Regions from separate parts of the Homo sapiens genome. Here region 2 is linked to region 1. Evidence: promoter capture Hi-C in human tissues and cell types (Jung and others, 2019). All regions are on one chromosome and are shown on one strand. Each heading gives the region's core, a stretch centred on a gene start or on the middle of the fragment in contact. The rest is flanking DNA. Distances are from core to core; before and after follow the strand shown.

Evidence for each region. The method cuts DNA at HindIII sites, captures the fragments that hold promoters and counts their contacts. A contact is called where the count stands out against the background at its distance.
Region 2: a contact is called between a fragment that was not itself captured here and the fragment with the promoter of TNFRSF1B in region 1, in 1 of the 25 tissues and cell types used here (liver).

Annotation. Positions count from the first base shown.
Region 1 is chr1:12,165,602-12,168,301 of GRCh38, forward strand. It overlaps TNFRSF1B (TNF receptor superfamily member 1B), which reads left to right and starts at 1,390. Exons shown (of 10, transcript NM_001066.3): 1 at 1,390-1,568. The coding sequence starts at 1,491. MIR7846 (microRNA 7846) reads left to right here and starts at 1,342; the gene lies at 1,342-1,437. RefSeq lists silencers at 1,226-1,535, 1,546-1,775 and an enhancer at 1,816-2,457. The HindIII fragment of the contact is 11,494 bases long and covers 1-2,700 here.
Region 2 is chr1:12,380,827-12,383,709 of GRCh38, forward strand. It overlaps VPS13D (vacuolar protein sorting 13 homolog D), which reads left to right. Exons shown (of 70, transcript NM_015378.4): 58 at 2,150-2,329. Among named protein-coding and RNA genes, the nearest start is that of SNORA59A, 120 kb to the right of the region's middle. The HindIII fragment of the contact is 4,520 bases long and covers 1-2,883 here.

The DNA of each region.
Region 1 (2,700 bases), core at 140-2,639:
TCCCAGTTTCTCACTCAGCACTCAGCACCTAGAAGCACCATCCTTGCAGGCTCCACTGTGGGGCTGGTGGCCGGGAGCAAGGGTCTCTGTACCTCTTCAGGCAGCCTGCAGTGAGGAAACAGGGAACAGAATAGCCTCCTGCCACCCAGCCCACCCCAACCCTTAGAAATGCCCTATGTGCTGGGGGCTAGGACCCCCGTAATCCAGGGCTGGAGGAATGTGCTCTGGCCCCGCAGGGCTGGCCCTGTATTAGGGCTGGCACTCAAAGTGGGGATGGGGGGACAGATTGCAGCTGGAATGGGTGCTCGGTCATGATGTAAATCCTGGGGAAGCCAGCTCTCCTGGGCCTGGTCTCAGCAGCCCCTCAGGGCCCTGCAGCTTCCCTGGTGACATTCTCTCCCAGCCTCTGTTCATCTGCCCCCTGCCTGGGCAGGAGACTTGAGCAGGGAAGTGCAGAGTCTTCTCCCTGTGAGAAGGCTGGATGCGTGTTTAAGGATAAATGAACACGCGAAGAGTAGTAACAACAGCCAAGATTTATAAATGCCTATTGTTATATATGTAGATACTTACTTAAGTATATATAAAGTACAGACTGCATTATGTATATTACATATCTTTAAATTTTTAGAATAGTCCTATGAGGTCAGTTCAGAGATCCAGACCCAGGTGGTCTGGCTCTAGAGTCTAAACAGGCCGAGTGCAGTGGCTCACACCTATAATCCCAGCACCTTGGGAGGCCAGAGGCGGGAAGATCACTTGAGGGTGGGAAGAACACGTGAGCTCAGGAGTTCGAGACCAGCCTGGACAACATGGCGAAACCCCATCTCTATAAAGAAATCAGCCTAGCATGGTGGCCCGAGCCTGTAGTCCCAGCTACTCGGGAGGCTGAGGTGGGAGGATCGCTTGAGCGCAGGAGTTGGAGGCTGCAGTGAGCTATGGGTGAAAGAGTGAGACCTTGTCTCAAAAAAAATTAAAAAATAAGAATTAAATATATTTAAAATAGAGTCTAAATAAGTGAATGATCTAGAATTCTCTTGGTTCCCCTAAAGCAGCTGTCAGCTTTGGGGGATGTTTTTCCAAATTAGTGCCTCACCCTCACGGGACAGGGAAGCCTGTGGGAGCTGGGAGGGCAGGTGGAGGCCGGGCAGGTGGAGGCCGGGCAGGTGGAGATGGTGATTCGAAGAGGAGGGGACGATAGGAGGAGGTTGAGGGGTCACCCGAGTGCTGGGAGTGACGCTGGAGGTATCGGCCCAGCGATGCTGGAGTGGTCGGGTCGGAGGCCCAGCAGCGTCTGGGGAGGGGCGTGGGGGAGGCGTGTCCAAGGCCGGCTGGCCCCGCCCCGCCCCGCCGCCTGGCCTCTGGCCCGCTGGGGCGCGGGCTTTCGCTTTCAGTCGAGGGCTAGCGAGCGCAGCGGAGCCTGGAGAGAAGGCGCTGGGCTGCGAGGGCGCGAGGGCGCGAGGGCAGGGGGCAACCGGACCCCGCCCGCACCCATGGCGCCCGTCGCCGTCTGGGCCGCGCTGGCCGTCGGACTGGAGCTCTGGGCTGCGGCGCACGCCTTGCCCGCCCAGGTGGGTGACTCGCGCGGCCCACGGGGGACAGCCGCCCCGCATGTCCACCCGGCTGGTGCGCAGCCTTCGGGTGCCCGGGCCGCGCTCTCCCGGGGCGCTGTCACGGGCTGGGAGGCTGGGAGTCCCAGTCGCCGCCCCCCATCCGCATCAGACACGCGCGCCTCTGGGGACCCGCTGGGGACTCCGGGCCCGGCACACGTGCGCTCGGGGCACAACTCTGGCCCCCGAAGCCCCTCTTACCCGCGTCGTGACAGGGGCGCACCCTGGTTCCTCCGCGAGCGCAGGCCGGGGCATTTGGGGCTGAGCAGCGGGTCCTGGGCAGACCCCCGCTAGACCCGGGACCCCTCTTCCCTCACCCCGGCGACTGCCGCGACAGCCCTTCCCTCCCACGCGGTGGAGAAGGGGCTGTGCCGGGGCGCTGCCCCACTGCCCACGCCGGGCACCCTCTTCAAAAGACTTCCTTTTCCTCTGGGCGACGGTTTTCCGATTTCTTAGAAATACCAGGGTCCTGTGTCTGAAGAGCAGGACCAGGTGTGTGTCAGGTCCACTGAGGGCACAGCTGGAGGGCGAGCTGCCTGTCTGCTTCCTCCGATGCGTCCGGGGGCTACTGCAGAGTCTGTTTTCTGCGGCCTCTGGGGACAGGGCAAGCGAGGGAGGTCTGGGCTGGTAATCGAGCAAGGCAAATGAAGTCTCCGGGGGCCGCAGGAAAATGGAGACAGCAGAAACCCTAGGGCTCCTATTCAATATGAACGTCACTCCCACAGTAGCAACGGGCGTACAAGGGACTGTGCACCCTTTGCCTGTTTTTGACTGTCTCCTGGTCTGGTAACATAGGATAACCCCATTTTTGTTTTACTGTCTCCATGGTTTGGTAAGATAAGATAAACCATTTTTTAGAGAAGGAAAACTGAGGCTCAGAGAACTTGTATTTCATGGAAGGGTCTGGGGGGAACTCTTCCTCCAAAGGGGGCCTCTCCTGCCTTCGGCCCCTGTGCCCTGAGGCTGCGGGGAAGGTGGGCGTTCATCCTTCCTCAGAGCCGCCCCTGATGGACACATGGCCCATCTGCCCCCATCTGACATCTTGACCGAGGAGGAAGGTGGGAGGTGGCACTGGCTTCTGTGGTGACATAAG
Region 2 (2,883 bases), core at 148-2,647, 220 kb after region 1:
GCCCTGAGCTTTTTTCATCAAAGACAAGCTGCTTACTTATATGTAGCACACATCTGGAATGGATTTGTGATTTTCAATTAGCAATACAATTCAAACTTCTAGAGGCAAAGAGGGCTTGTTATAATTGGTGGGTTTCATGTCTGACCCTGACTTCACTTCTAGTTTGTTTCTAAAGCCCATGTAATTCCAATGCTCTTGGAGCATTTTCTTCCTTAAAATCTTTTTTTGGTGTTTGTTGTTTTGTGAATCTATTTCATCATTTCCCTGCTTGTTAGTGACAGTATAATAACAGTATTCAGCAGAGCAGAATGTGTTTTGGTTAGGGAAGTAAGCTTGTTTCAATCTTATTATGCTGAATAAAGTCATTGAAGACATTAAAACATTTTCTGACACTGCTCTTATTAGGTTGTATATGCTCTTTCTTTCTAAACTTATAATAGCTATAAAAAGCTTTCTTTGTGTTGAAACCTGTACTATAAACCCTGCTCAAAGTTTGCTTTTCATGAGTCAATATTTAAAAGTTAACAAAGGGGATTTAGACACTCTTTGCCATTGTCTTCTCTAGCCTTGTGTTTGCTTTCCCACAGCCATAATCCTGTAGACTCGATTTACTTGGGGCATGTAGCAAGGTGTTTTCCTCCAAAGGCCTTGTTAAAGCAAACTAAATATGGCCTGAGAAGGACTCCGTACTTCTATAATTGAATCCCTGTGGACCAACTGTAACCTAGAGTAATCGGCAGGCAAGATTGAAATCCTTACTTAGGAGTATGTGCCTGTAACAATAGCTGAGACTTGGCCAGTCACAGCAGCCATACTTCCACCACTCACAGATGGCTGAGTGTTCAGACTGTGTTCAAATAAGGCAGACGCCAACCTGTAACCAATCCAGCTGTTTACTTCCAACTTCTGTACATCACTTCCCTTTCTTTGTCTATAAATTTGTTCTGACCACGAGGCATCCCTGGAGTCTCTCTGAATCTGCTGTGATTCTGGAGGCTGCCTGATTTGTGAATTGTTCATTGCTCAATTAAACCCCTTTAAATTTAATTCGGCTGAAGTCAGTCAGTCTGTCTTTTTTTCTTTTTCTTTCTTTTCTTTTCTTTCTTTCTTTCTTTCTTTCTTTCTTTCTTTCTTTCTTTCTTTCTTTCTTTCTTTCTCTCTCTCTCTCTCCTTCCTTCCTTTCTTCCTTCCTTCCTTCCTTTCTTTCTCTTTCTTTCTTTCTTTCTTCCCTTTCTTCTCTCTCTTTCTTTCTTTTTCTTTCTTTCTTTTTCCTTTTCCTCTTTTCTTTTCTTTTGACAAAGTGTCGCTCTTGTTGCCCGGGCTGGAGTACAATAGCACAATCTCAGTTCACTGCAACCTCCGCCTCCCGGGCTCAAGCGATTCTCCTGCCTCAGCCTCCTGAGTAGCTGGGATTACAGTTGCCTGCAACCATGCCTGGCTAATTTTTGTATTTTTAGTAGAGATAGGGTTTCACCATGTTGACCAGGCTGGTCTCAAACTCCTGACCTCAGATGATTCGCCCGCCTTGGCCTCCCGAAGTGCTGGGATTACAGGCTGAGCCACCTCGCCTGGCTTGAAGTTTTTCTTTTAACAGCCTGAATAACTGGGTATCAGGTGACATTCTCAACTCTGTATTCCATTCTAGAAGAAACACCATCTTTTGAGTATTTGGATTGGTTGTCCAGCCATAGGCCTGTTTGGGGAGGTTTTCAACTCAAGAATTTTCCTCTTACTGGAAAGCTGAATGATTATAATAATTATTTTCTATTTTCAGAATATTTCAGATTTTTAAGCAAACCCTAGTAAGAATACTCAAAGAAACAGCTAGTTTTGGCTACTTTTTTAGAAGTTTATTTTAATGACAAGAAGTTAGTACTAGTAAAAGGCAGAATTAAACTGATCTATGCATGAAATTATCTCTTATTCATAATTACCAAAATTTATGAGCATAACTTTTCATCTTACTGAAGTAATTCTCCTGTTTTTCATCATCTGCAAAGCTGAACAAATAGTAAAGGCTTTGTTGCACATTGATCATGACCCTCCAGAGGAGAATGTAAATTTAGGAACTTGTTTGAAATGATGTGTTAACTTGTCAAAGTCAGTGCCTCTGTCTTTTCTCACATGTCTCTACTCCAATGTCTTTTAGGCCAAAGGAGGACTTTCTGGTTTGTTTGATGGAGCTGAAGTTGTTCTTGGTCCTGACACTTCCATGGAGCTTTTGGGGCCAGTTCCACCTGAACAACAATTTATTAATCAAAAAATGAGACCTGGTTCTGGAATGTTATCCATCAGAGTCATCCCAGATGGACCAACTAGAGCACTCCAGGTGATAATTTGTCATAAGAGCTGATGTGAAACTCTGTACTTCCTCCACCCCCAATGATTACTCATTTAACAAATACTTATTGAACATGTTTATGCCAGATATGAAGATATGGTATCTTCATCTGTAAAATGGGGATAGGATCTACCTCACAAAGTTGTTACAAGAACTAAAGTACAACAAAAAGATAAGCGTAAAGTATAAACAAAGTATCAATGAAATATGTGGTAACCTAAAAAAGTATAAGATTTAAACAAGATAATGTTAACAGTGCATATTAATAGTGTTGTTAATTATTATTAATAACATAATATCTTAATAACATTAACAACAAGAAGATATGAGATCCTTAATCAGATAATTAAAATATTGTGTTAATGAGAGTAGGAGTGGAGGGTGTATGGAAAGGATTTGTATTCCCAGATTTAGAGGGTGGGGAGCTTCCTAAGAGAAGTAGTACTTAAACTGAGACCTAGAGTTTAACTGAAAGGAATTAGCCAAATAGAAAGGTACAGGTGGAGGGGCTGTGCCCTCAGTAATAAGCATGTTCATCAACA